Regions from separate parts of the Homo sapiens genome. Here region 1 is linked to region 2. The links are contacts of gene promoters, found by promoter capture Hi-C in human tissues and cell types (Jung and others, 2019). All regions are on one chromosome and are shown on one strand. Each heading gives the region's core, a stretch centred on a gene start or on the middle of the fragment in contact. The rest is flanking DNA. Distances are from core to core; before and after follow the strand shown.

Region 1 (7,053 bases), core at 2,700-5,199, 44 kb after region 2:
GATCCACTTGCCTTAGCCTCCCAAAGTGCTGGGATTACAGGCGTGAGCCACTCCACCAGACCTAAAATATAATATTTTCTTAACATCATGATCAATAAGTCAGGGTCCAAATTTCACCAAATGAATCATATTTTTAACTTCAGAAAATTGTAGCTTTTTTTCCCCAGGTGTCATTTCCAGAACGAATTGTCAATCTGTGTGGTCACCCGCTAGATGGCCACTTTATGCCTAACAAGAACCTTTGGCAACCAAGTTGATCCACTAGGGACATTCTCTGGGAATATTGAGTGCCAAGGCCCAGGAGAGCTGCCAGCTATGAGAAAAAGGGGAGAGGCATGTCCTGAAAATCTACATTCACCCATGAGACCCTGAATCAGCACTAGTGGCTAAGTGTGAGAATCGAGTGAGCTTTCTCTTTCCTTGTTAGTAAGCTCAGTGATGCACAGGAGTGGACGGGCCCAAATTCTAGATGAGGGAGACCTCATTGCCTACAGCCACCTCCACTGTTTCCCCACCCTCCCACATTATGTACCCTGGGAGGAAGGGTGCCAGAGAGAGGCTAGCATTGGTATCTGTCATTCCAGAAAGACCTTTCCAGTCAACCCTGGCAAGGAATGCAAAGAGGAAACCCTTCAGTATGGAAGGGACATGCTGTCTCACTAACACTCTCCTCACCAACCTCCCTCTCCAGGTGAGGCTATGCCTTGAGAACAATGCTGATAGGTGGGTGCTCCCCACTGAGGCCTCTGCTCCAGCCTGCCTACTGGAAATGTTCCTGCAGGTAGTACCAGAATTAGGGAGGTGGGGTGGACCTAGAGCCTGTGCTGTGCAGTGTACATCACCAGTAAGCCCACTCTGAGAGAGGGGAGAGTGTAAGTGTAGCCTTTGGTGGGAACTGTGGAGAAATGGGGCACAGGGACAGTCACCGACTCCACCATCAGTGTCATCTCTAGGCTGCATGGAGGAAAAGTGTGCCCAGAGCAGATTACCTCCTGGGGTTGCTTGAACACAGACAGGGTTGTTTTACAGCACTTGGAGGGTGGTGCTTTCCTAGTTCCCACTATAACAGGCTTAATGTGGCTACACCACATGGTTACCAAAGGGAAGAAGGACATCCACCCACCTCTCCAGCCTCATTGCTTAGGGCTCCCCGCCCCCGGGTCCTCTGCAACTCAGCCATGGACAGCTCCTACCACCTCCTCAAAAGCACGTAGCTCTCTTGTCTCCTGGCCTTCATGCTTTTCTCTCTGTTTGGAACAGTTATTCTTTTCTTTGCCTAATTTTCACTCCTTCCCCAGGGCTCAATTTAAAGGGCCCTGGCTCCGGCAAACCCCTCCCAGAGGTGAGAGGCATGCTGCCCCTCACTCCCCTAAGGCCCTCTGTTGCCCTTCTGACACCTCACTGATGCTGCTGCCTGCTTGTTTCCATGTATTCTCTGTTGACTGTTAACACCTTGAAGGGCAGGGACCACCCTATATTGCTCACCATTTTAATTCCAGTGCCTGCTGCAGTATCCAACATGAGTAGATTCTTAATGAATATTTATTGAAAGAATGGTTTCAGTTTGTAATATACAAAGGGAACAAGTGAGAGCTGAAATTGTGAGCCAACTTAAAAACATCAATAAGAGAACTAAATTATTAGGGATTGAACCTTAGCTGAATTACCCCCCCACCAAAAAAAATATTGTCGAGAAGAGTAAGAGGTAGAGAACAGAGAGGATGATGGGCCTTTCCTCATCCCCTGCTAACCTGTGCAAACTGACAGTTATGTGCTCAGTCATACAGTGGCTCCATCATAGAAGTAAGGACAAGCACCCTGTCACCGATTCTTCTGCGGGCAGTAGCAGGTTCCTCTGGGACTGGGGGCAGGGAAAGGTCATCTGGTGTCTTAGAACCCAGGACCCCGAAGCCCTCAATGACAGTCACTTCTTGGTTGCTGTTACCTTACTGTAGACCCCCCAAAAGCATGAAGAGGCCACGTGAAGGGCTGCTAGTCTAACCTCTCATTTAAATCAGGGCTGTCACAGGCACCTTTTTTTTTTTTTTTTTGAGATAGAGTCTCACTCCATCACCCAGGCTGGAGTGCAGTGGCATGATCTCGGCTCACTGCAACCTCTGCCTCCCAGGTTCAAGCGATTCTTCTGCCCTAGCCTCCCAAGTAGCTGGGATTACAGGCGCATGCCAGCTAATTTTTGTATTTTAGAAGAGACGGGGTTTCACCATGTTGGCCAGGCTGGTCTCGAACTCCTGACCTCAGGTGATCCACTGGCCTCGGCCTCCCAAAGTGCTGGGATTACAGGCATGAGCCACCACGCCCGACCACCATTTTTAATAAATGATGATGCAGCCCCTTCTGGAAACTGATTCACAACAGAGTTCAATCCCTTGTTAAGCAATTTTTATTCAACAACAAGGGCAAAAATGTTTTTTGGTATTTTGTTCTGAAACCTGATTTTCTAAAACTTCCATTCATGGGCCCTAGTTCTGGAAAAATACATAAGGACTTATTCCCCCTTAATGTAATAGATCTTGAAATGTACTTTACAGAAAATGCCAATTTTGAAAAGTCTCAATCCCACAAAAGAGATCCAGACAAATTTATTATTGGTCTGAAAAAAATGTCACCCAGATCTTTAGCTGTTTTGCTATAGACTCAAACCTTGGATCATTTGCTCCACTAATGTATTAATTTGGTTAATATGATTGTGATGATAGATTACATTTTGCTCTAGGTTGAATTCTTCCTTTTGAAATTGCTGTCAGTTGAACTCATATGCTGACTTATTTACAGGTTACAAACAACTAACTCAGTTGCTTTGTTTAGTTCCTAAATCACTTCCCTATTTTTAGATCATTGCCGTGTTTGAGAAGAATAGAGAACCTTTGATTTCCTAGGCATGTGGCAGCTTGAGGTGCCAGCATTTAGGGCTATTGTAGCTAAATCTCATTCATGGAATGAAAGTATGTGGCTGGTTGTAGTTGTGACATTGAATTCAATTGTTTTTGTTCTTTTCTAGGAAGAGATTCCACCTAATAGTTTTAGTCTAAGTTAATTTAGCTATGTTGAAGGCCTCCACCCCTCTCAGTAGGTTGCTCTATGATGACACACCCACTGTCTACTGGCCTCTGCTGTGTAACTTGAAGCCACCTGCAGTTGGTTGTGTTAGTGTGTAATATCCTAAGAAGTCATGCCATGTCCTTACAAGTGAAATCACAGTGCCTAGCTTCATTTAATGCCATTCCAGGTCACTTTGCCAGGAAAAATCATTGACTCATGGAAAGAAAGCTTGTATTAAAAGTGGAGGAAAGCACAGAGAATTTATTCAAGAAGTTATTGATACCTAAATCACTTGGAAATGGATATTTACGTCCCTGATTCTTTTTGTTTCACGTACCAGAAGTGTAAAGGCCTATGGGATTGACATATATCCTCCCAGTGTTTACTTCTCAACTAAACATTTCATATCCTGAAATATCCTAGTTATTTTTATAAGACAGCTTCCTTGCTTTTCTCCAAGAGATTTTTGGGATAGAACAGTGGTTCTCAACCACAGGTGATTTTTTCCCCCCAGGGGACATTTGGCAATATTTGGAGATATTTTTGGTTGTCACAGGTGAAGGGTTGCTACTGGCATCAAGGGGGTAGAGGTCAGGAATTCTGCTGAAAATCCTACATGAGGAGGACAGCATCCCACCTCCAACAAAGAACTGTCTGGTCCAAAATGTCAATAGTGCCAAGGTTGAGAAATCCTAGGTTAGAGAATCTATTTCTAATTGATTTAAATATTTTCTCTATTGACTTCAACCTTATTTACTGATTTAGATGATTTTATTGAGTTTGACAATGACTGGGGTTAGGAAAGAGCTGCTGCTTATCAAAACCCACTAAACCACATCCAAGATGAACTCACATTACAAGGATATTTCTGGGTGAGACTTGCTCCTCCATGCCTTCTGCACTCTTTATGTAAAGACACTGAAAGGGAATAGGTTTTAGTTTTCTATTGCTGCCATATCAAATTGCCACAAATTCAGGAGCTTAAAGCAACACAAATTTTTTATGTTACAGTTCTGCAGGTCAGATGCCTGGTACAGATTTCACTGGGCTAAAATCAGGGTGTTGGCAATGTAGAATTCATTATGGATGCTCTGGGGAAATATTCATTTCCTTGCCCTTTTCTACTTCTCTAGGTGCCAGCATTCCTTGGCTTGTGGCCCCTTTCTCCATAGGCAGTAATGTGCAGCTCTCTGATCTTTCTTCTATAGTCATACCTTCCTCGCAGCCAGGAAGAGCTTTCTGCTTTTAAGGATGCTTGTGATTGCATTGGGCCCACCCAGATAACCCAGGATAACTTCCCCATTTCATGGTCCCTAACTTAATCATATTTGCAAAGTACCTTTTCCCATGTAAGGTAACATATATATTCATAGGTTGCAGGGATTAGGATATAGATACTTTTGGGAGCCATTATGTTGCCTATTACAAAATAAGACTAATTTTGGCACCACCTAACTTCCATTGGGCTATTGATGTCCTATAAACTGGGACAAACTAAAGAACAGAGGCTTTGGGGGATGTGCTGATATCACGTCATAGAAAATTCCTGGGAGCAGTTCAACTGCAGCCTTGAACATAGGAGTAAGTTTGCCTCTAATGGAAGTGGATATTTCAATTGTCAATCATTTTGGAAAGAAGTCATTCCTGGGTGAGTCTTAGAAAGGGTGAGGAAAACACCTTTCTTTTCTCTCCAAGGCCTGGGTTAATTTAGCCTAGATCTGGAGCGAAAGGAACCAAGAACGCATATAGATGTTGGGGGTAGGATAAACCCCTGGGCCTGAGCAAGTGGCCTGGGATAGAAGACACGGTGTCAACTTACTTTGTAAGGGACCTAGAAGAGGGTGGAGACTGTGCAATATGTTGGAAAAGTCTTAGTTTTTCAAAAAGTATCTTGTTTCTGCAATGCTGTCAGAAATGGAAGGAAATAGCTTCTGCTGTACTTGAAGATGGCTCCCCTAGAATGGGAAGACATAATCTACAGAGTCCAGAATCACATGGCTGCTGAAGGCGGCCTGGGGAAGGCAATGATTAATTTTATATGTCAACTTGACTGGGTTAAGGGATGCCCAGATAGCTTGTAAAACATTTTTTCTGGGTGTACCAGTGAGGCTATCTCCAGAAGAGATTGGCATTTGAATTTGTAGATTGAGTAAAGAAGCTTCACTTTTGCCAATGTGCACAAGCATCATCCAATCCTTTGAGGACCCAAAAGGGTAAAAAAGGCAGAGGAGGGGCAAATTAGCTCTGTCTTCTTGAGTTGGGAAATCCATCTTCTGCCCACAGACATTAGAGCTCCTGGTTCTCAGGCCTTCAGCCTCAGACTGAATTACACCACTGGCTTTCCTGGTTCTCCAGCTTGAAGATATCATATGGCAACATGTCCTGGTCTCCATAATTTTGTGAGCCAATTCCCCTAGTAAATCTCCTCTTACATATCTCTATATTTGTTTTTTGAGATGGGGTCTTGCTCTCTCGCCCAGGCTGAAGTGCAGTGGCGAGATCTCAGCTCACTGCAAGCTCTGCCTCCCGGGGCTCACGCCATTCTCCTGCCTCAGCCTCCTGAGTAGCTGGGACTACAGGTGCCCACCACTACGCCCGGCTAATTTTTTGTATTTTTAGTAGAGATAGGGTTTCACTGTGTTAGCCAGGATGGTCTCGATCTCCTGACCTCGTGATCCACCCGCCTTGGCCTCCCAAAGTGCTGGGATTACAGGCGTGAGCCACCATGCCTGGTCACATATCTCTATATTTCTTATTGGTTCTGTTTTTCTGGAGAACCCTGACTAGTACAGGGAACACATCAGAAACTGAGATATTCAGAAACTGTTAGAAGAAGAAAACCTGGCAAAAGACTGAACATTAGAAGGATAAAAGGTTCCAACTATTGTGATTTGTGTGTTAAAGGAAAGTGGGACCTCACGGATTATGAAGTCTGGGCTATTTATGTAATGTACCAAGATCTGTTTTATAGTAATCAGTACAAGTATGAGATTTGAGAGCATTTTGGTAATAAATATGACATTCCTGATTCACAGAAAACTCTCTTAAATCACAAGATTTTACAATGTGATGCTGCAGGGATTGCTTTGTTTTTCTTTTGAAGGTATTGGCTGGGGTGGACCTTGTGGAAAATACCTTGGACTGCTCATGAGGAGACTGGGTTGTGAGTCCCCTGTTTCCCCTTTGCACATTGGACCTGAATGAACTCATCCACTTGTGGATTTATCCGTCATTATATCTGGATGATTCTTAGTGTAATACTTCAACTTTGACCTCCCAGTTGGAAAACTATAGCCCCTGACCTCAAGGAACTCAGACTTGTTTATATCTCCTTTGTATCCTCAGTCCTCAGCATAGGGCCTGGAAATATTACTAAATGATTTTTTGCTAAATAACTATATCAAGTATATGACTCTCACTAACTGGCTGTGTAAACTTGGTGAATTCACTTTACTGAGACCCAGGTTCCTCATCCAAAATGAGGTGCTTAGAAATCTTAATTCTAAGGTAATTTCTGTCTCTAACATTCTATAATCTTTTCAGTGTGTAAAGTGTCACTTCACCCTGTGATGGTTTTACACACTCTCTTTATTGTTTGACAAAGTAGAAAAAGCATTAATTGTCTTCCAGTAAAGTGTCAGATGTTTCACCTGACAGGTAACCAGGCTCAGGGTAGATGACTCTTTTGTGTAGATTTGGCTTCTTTCGTTCCAATCAATTCATGCTATGTTTACAAAACATTAAGTGCAATTGAAATTAATTTCACCCTGGGTGCCTTGCCATACAGAATCAAAGGAAGCAGTTTTTGGGTGCTGCGTCAGACAAGGGTTTGGGCAAAATGAGGAACAAGATGAGACACTGATCTTTTGCCCTTTTGTTCTACCTTGCTGTCTCCTTAGGCTTCTTTGTCAGGGACATATATCTGGTCCCAGGGATTCCATTCCCCTCACCTGAACTCCCTTAACTCTGCTGAGGCTGTGTGGTGAAAGGGTT
Region 2 (6,952 bases), core at 372-2,871:
AGGAAATCTGCTTTTTTTAATTTTTATGTGAAACAGAGTCTTGCTGTGTTGCCCAGGCTGGAGTACAGTGGCATGATCTTGGCTCACTCCGACATCAGCCTCATGGGTTAAAGCCATTCTCATGCCTCAGCCTCCCGGGTAGCTGGGATTACAGATGCACAACACTGTGCCTAGCTATTTTTGTGTGTTTTTTGGTAGATATGGGGTTTCACCAATGTTGGTCAGGCTGGTCTCAAACTCCTGGCCTCAAGTGATCCGCCCTCCTCAGCCTCCCAAAGTGCTGAGATTACAGGCTGAGCCACTGCGCCCAGCTGATGAAATCACCTTTAAAAATGACTAGTTAGGGGCAGAACTAGGATTTGAACTTGGGTCTGTCTGACTTCATTCAGAGCCTGCTTTCAAATTAGACAGCAGCCTCCACCTGTTTAGAGTCAGAGATTTGTATTCCATGGGTGTTATTGAAGCAGACGTATCTCCTGATAATAGCATAGACATTTGGGACAAGGTAAAAGTTTCCCCAATGAGTCTATCAGAAACCACTCTTATCTCTAAAGAAATAAGCCAATTTGTTACTCATTATAGAACTGACTTAAAGAATTCACGAAAAACAGGCTTCCCTCTCTGATGGCTTCATCTTTGTTGAGGCTAAGACTTGAGTGTTCAGTTCAAAACAAAAACGAGAAACAAAATAGCGCAGGCCCTGACCAAAAGGTCCATGTCTAAGGTTGGCACTGACCTTCAGCCCAGGGACATCCCTCCTCTACAGTACTCACTGCCTGTCCAGTCTTTGAGATTCTCACTCTAACCCTGGCAGGACTTCATCTGCTGCCTGGATTCCCAGACTTGGTTGGGGCTCAATAGTGATCCTGACACAAGGAGTGGGAGAATGCATTCACTTACTGGGAGGGCAAGGGGCGCTTGATCCTGACCACAGCCACCTGCACTCCATCCTGCTCGGGCCTCTCCTCAGCCTCTCCTCCATAGCCGCTGTCCTCTGTGTCTACGCTGTCACTCCTCCATGTGGGCTCCTCCTGCTCCATCACTCTCCAGCCCTTGGTTAGCTCAGACACCAGGTTGGCACATTTTCTCCTCCGCGTTGGGGAGCCGTGGCTGTGGAGGATTCTGTCAATGTCATTCTCTGGCTGCCCAGGTTCAAGCACACCAGCATCCCTCTCGTACCTGTGGCTGAGGTGGCTCACGTCCCCTCCTCTCTCATAAGTCTTGCTGACCACCGTTTTGGACACCTCTTTCTTTTTGATGTGAGAAACCTCAGGGGCTTTCTCTGAGCTTTGTCCATCTCCATGTCCTTCTGGCAGGCGGGGTGGCGACTTTGGGGCACTCTGAGCTTTCTGGTGTGAAGTAGGGGGTGTGATTGGTTTAGGAGCTTGAGGTGAGTCCTGGGTCCCTCCCGGCAGCCAGCCTGTAGGCTCCTGGGCCTGCCTGATGCTGTTCTCATTCGCCCACTGCTGCCAACCTCGGGCCAAGCTGATGACCAGGGTGGCTGTGCGTATCTTCCGGAGGGCGCTCTTGGCTGGGCCCTCCCCGCTTTCCTTTTCGCCCGGAGCCATGCTGCCCACCTGTCTTTCTCTGCTGATAGCCTGGACACTGGCTAAAATGAGTGTGGTCCAGTGGAGTGCCTGGGATTTAAATAGAAGCAGGGTGCGGGGTGGGAAGGAGAGCTTAGTGACGATGGAAACTATGTGAAGCATTTCTTGCCAAGATGTGGCGCCTTTGCCCTGATGGTGTTCTTTTTATAAATCATGACAGCTCCAGTTTCATCACGGCAGAGGGACATCTCTGCTGGTAAGGAACAGTGATATGCTCACTCTCTTCTCCAAGTGCCAGAGTGGAAATTACTAGATCAAGTCATGTGCTCAGCCTTACGTTTGTCTGACCTTAATATGGTCCTACCATTTATAGGTGCATACATATTATCCTGGGAACATTATAGGATTGTTCCCACTTAAACCCCAGCAGCCCTCAGTACAGCTCCTAATTAGTTCCACTTTATAGCTAAGTAAAATAAAATCTAACTTCCAGCAGCTAATAAAATATGAGATTCAAATCCATCTCTGTGTAATTCAAAGCGTGTGCCTCCTTTTATTCCAGTTATCAAAGATCCTAAGTTGCCTTTTTCTTTTTCATTCAACTCCATTAGAAATAGACCTTAGAAAATCAACTCATCCAATCTTCATTTTCCAAATGAGAAAATTGAAGCCCAGATACGAGAAAGACCAAAGTCCAGATAGTCAAAGACTAATTACTTTCTAGTCCCAACTTTGAACTATTGTATAGATAACTCATATTAAAATACAAAAAGGGAGTCAAAATTTTGGTCCAATCATTAAAAAATGTTTTTAAAACCTGTATACACATTGGATTTTAGAAATTATTATTGGAGGCCGGGCGAGGTGGCTCACGCCTGTAATCCCAGCACTTTGGGAGGCCGAGGCGGGCAGATCACGAGGTCAGGAGATCGAGACCATCCTGGCTAACATGGTGAAACCCCGTCTCTACTAAAAATACAAAAAATTAGCCGGGCGTAGTGGCGGGCGCCTGTAGTCCCAGCTACTCGGGAGGCTGAGGCAGAAGAATCCTGTGAACCCGGGAGGCGGAGCTTGCAGTGAGCGGAGATCGAGCCACTGCACTCCAGCCTGGGTGACGAGCGAGACTCCGTCTCAAAAAAAAGAAAGAAAGAAAGAAAGAAATTATTGTTGGAATACATATTTTGAAATACTTTGTTTGAAAAGATCATCTAAGGACAGAATTCTAAGGACAGAATAAATGAAAGCTATCGGTAGCTCACTTCTTATCCCCATCCCGCCTACCCTTACCGTTTGGTTTGTGGTTGTTGTTTTGTTTTGTTTTTTGAGATAAGGTCTTGCTGTGTCCCCAGGCTGGAGTGCAGTGGTGTGATGATGGCTCACTGCAGCCTTGACCTCCTGTGCTCAATCAGTCCTCCTGCCTCAGTCTCCCAAGCAGCTGGGAATACAAGCATGAGCCACCATGCCTAGCTAATTGTTTTTGTTTTTGTTTTATATAGACGGAGTCTCGCTATGTTGCCCAGGCTGGTCTCAAACTCCTGAGCTTGTGCAGTCTTCCCACCTTGGCCTCCCAAAGTGCTGGGATGACAGATGTGAGCCCCCACGTCTGGCCCCTTTTGTTTTTAGTAACACAATCTTCCTTAGCAGGACTTTATGTTCATGTAGGCAAAGACAGTTTTTCAACTCTCACAAGAGGGACTGAAATATAATATTTTTTTAAAAGGACTGGAAAGACAAGCATGTGGACAGAAAGAGAAACATCTATGCAGTGTATTAAACCAGATAAAAATGTCCAGGGCTCAGCAATGAATAATTTCTTAAAGTAAGACGGAATTTTTTTTCATTCAACAGGTCTGTTGGCTTTAAAACTATATCCTTTCCTTCAGTCTTGCATGCAAGTAACCATACTGATTGAAAACTGCTGTTTAAGAGCACAAAAAGGTATAAAAGTTAATTATTTCAGAGAGTGAGACATTTATTTTGGAAAAAAGTTGGTATTAGTTTTTTGTTGTTGTTGTTGTTTTGTTTTTTTGTTTGAGACGGAGTCTCGCTCTGTCGCCGAGGCTGGAGTGCAGTGGCGCGATCTCGGCTCACCGCAAGCTCCGCCTCCCAGGTTCACACCATTCTCCTGCCTCAGCCTCTGGAGTAGCTGGGACTACAGGAGCCCGCCACCACGCCCGGCTAATTTTTTTGTATTTTTAGCAGAGACAGGGTTTCACCGTGTTAGCCAGGATGGTCTTGATCTCCTGGCCTCGTGATCCTCCTTCCTCGGCCTTCCAAAGTGCTGGGATTACAGGCGCGAGCCACCGCGCCCGGCCGCTATTCGTTTTTCATCGTGTGGGTTATTTACCTCTTAGGATAAAAAAAATTGGGAAGTGATTTAATACTTAATCTACAGATCTGTCAGAGGTGTTTCCAGAGTTCAACGGCATCTGATAACATTAACTGAGGGCCAGAAATGCGGAGAAAAAAAAAAATCCCTCTTGATTAATTAAGAGGAAATTGGATCACAAGGAAAGAAAACTATTACAAACAAAGATTTCAATCTGAGCCTGAAATTTCTGGCATTCCTCCCAGCAATGCAGATTCACTGCAGCCTGTTTGGTTCTTATCAGAATCTCTTCATCCCACTTGGAAGGTCTTAGGAAAAAATAGAGTTCCTCTAAGACACCCATACGCTTAGCCCAGAATCAGGATAATTTATAGCTTTCAACGGGATTTTCCTGCTTGCCTGTCCACACCTGCCCCAGATTCAGTCCTGATAGAGGGAGAAGAAAGGGAAACAGCAAATGTTAACAGTCTTTCACGTATTAACTGGCATTGCAGTCAGCTACTGGGGTTTGGGGATGTCAGCAGATGGTCTTGGCTGAAAAACAGGAGCAGCTTCTAAAAGAACCTAGTCATTCCTTCTGAGATTTAGCCTCCATGGCAACTGCAGTCCTTCATTCATCACTCTACAGAAGAGAGTGTAAAATCGTTTTCCTCCTCACGCGTGCTTTGGGCCTTTCTTCCCTAAAGCAAGGTCTGTATGCTACCTCCCATACATCTTTGATTACTATAGAAATATTACGTTCATTGTCTCAATCGAAATTCAAATTCTTGGGAGTTCTAGATTTTCCTGTTTCATTTATGTTAGAAATGAAAATAAAACCTCAAAGACAAAAATAAAATGAATTAAGTGTTTTACAATGGGAGCTTCCTAGGAAACCTTGAGATTTGAAACTGTTTGTGAAGATGCAGACCTGATTAATGAGATCATTATCGCCTAAGAAGTCTGTCATAAGTGAGAAAGTATCTTGAAAATAGTATTTGTTATTTTTTGATCATATGAATAGTAGAAAGAGGAAGGAGAGGTATTTATATATTTTTCTGCATGATACACTTAGAAGTTAGGTAGAGCCAACCCTCATAGCCAGCTGTATAATCTGATTAAAGAGACTTTAGGAACCTACATTTGCTCAAAGCTATATGAAACAATCGCTTTTTTTTTTTTTTTTTTTTTTGAGATGGAGTTTCACTCTTTTGCCCAGGCTGAAGTGAAGTGCCATGGTCTTGGCTCACTGCAACCTCCGCCCCCTGGGTTCAAGTGATTCTCCTGCCTCAGCCTCCTGAGTAGCTGGGATTACAGGCATGCTCCACCACACCTGGCAAATTTTGTATTTTTAGTAGTGACGGGGTTTTGCCATATTGGCCAGGCTGGTCTCAAACTCCTGATCTCAGGTGATCCAGCTGCCTGGGCCTCCCAAAGTGCTGGGATTACAGACGTGAGCCACCACACCAGGCCACAATAGCTGCTTTTTTAAGTTGTTTTATTGTGTATATTTGAAGTTTACAACATGATTTTATGGAATACATGTATAATAAATAGCAAAATGATTACTATAAGAAAGCAAGGTAACATATTTATCATCTCACATAGTTGCTTTTTTGATAAGAGCAGCTAAAATCTACTTTAAAATTTCTAATGCACTTTTATTAACTATAGTGCTCTGTTGTACATTAAATCTCTAGATTTGTTAATCCTACATATCTGCTACATTGTATCCGTTGACCTGTTTTCCCATTTCATCCCCCAAGCCAACTCTTGTAACCACTATTTTATACTCTATATATTTGACCTTTTTTAAAAAATCATGCAATATTTTCCTTTCTGTGTCTGGCTTATTTTGCTTAACAAAATGTCCTTCTTGTCCATCCATGTTGTGCCAAATAGCAGGATGCCATTCTTTTTTCTGGCTGAATAATATTCCATTCTTTCTTTATATATAGACACACACATATACATATACACACACATATATATACACACATACATCTATATAATATGTATATTATATGTTATATATATGCATACACACATATATACATATTCCACATTTTCTTTATCCATTTGTCCATCTACAGACATGTACGTTGTATCCATATTTTGGGTATTGTGAAAAATACCACTATAAATATGGGATTGCAGATATCTTTATGAGGTAGTGATTTCATTCCCTTTGGGTATAGGCTCAAAAGAGGGATTGTGGGATCATATATAGTTCTATTTTTAATTTCTTTAGGAACCTCCATACTGTTTTCCATAATGACTGCAACACCCTACATTTTCACCAACAATGTACTTTTCTCCACATCATTGCCAACATCTATTATCTCTTGACTTTTCAATAATAGTCATCCTAATGGATATGAAGTGATATCTCATAGTGGTTTTGGTTTGCATCTCCTGGATGATTATTGATGTTGAGCACATTTTCATATACCTACTGTCCATTTTTATATTTTCTTTGGATAAATATTTCTTTAGGTCCTTTGTCTATTTTTTAATGAAGTTATTTGTCTTTCTGCTATTAACTTGTGTTTTATTTATACTTTTAAAATACTTAACTCTTTATCAGATATGTAATTTACAGATTTTTTTACAGATATTTTTCCCAATTCATAGGTTGCCCTTTTGTTTTGTTGTTTCCTTTGCTGTGCAGCTTTTTAGTTTGATATAGTTCCATTTATTTATGTTTGATTTTGTAGCCTGAGCTTTTAGTATAATATATTTAAAAAATCATTGCCAAGGCCAGTCAATGTCCAGGTGCTTTATTCCTATGTTCACTTCTAGGAATTTTATGCTTTTAGGTCTTACATTTAGGTCTTTCATCCACTTTCAGTTGGTTTTTGTGTACGGTATAAGATAAGGGTCCAATTTTATTCTTTTGCATGTGGAAATCCAACTTTCCCAGCACCATTTATTAAAGAGACTACCCTTTCCCCATTGTGTCTTCTTGATGCCCTTGTCAAAAATTTGTTGGCTGTATATATTCATATTTATTTCTGAGCTCTCTATTCTGTTTTTTTGGTCTGTGTTTCTGTTTTATGCCAATACCATACTGTTTTGATTACTATAGCTTTGTGGT

Evidence for each region. The method cuts DNA at HindIII sites, captures the fragments that hold promoters and counts their contacts. A contact is called where the count stands out against the background at its distance.
Region 1: a contact is called between a fragment that was not itself captured here and the fragment with the promoter of ABRA in region 2, in 3 of the 25 tissues and cell types used here (hippocampus, mesendoderm cells and ovary).

What each region holds. Positions count from the first base shown.
Region 1 is chr8:106,810,358-106,817,410 of GRCh38, forward strand. No RefSeq gene overlaps it. Among named protein-coding and RNA genes, the nearest start is that of ABRA, 44 kb to the left of the region's middle. The HindIII fragment of the contact is 5,186 bases long and covers 1,357-6,542 here.
Region 2 is chr8:106,768,623-106,775,574 of GRCh38, forward strand. It overlaps ABRA (actin binding Rho activating protein), which reads right to left and starts at 1,622. Exons shown (of 2, transcript NM_139166.5): 1 at 901-1,622. The coding sequence starts at 1,568. The HindIII fragment of the contact is 12,258 bases long and covers 1-6,952 here.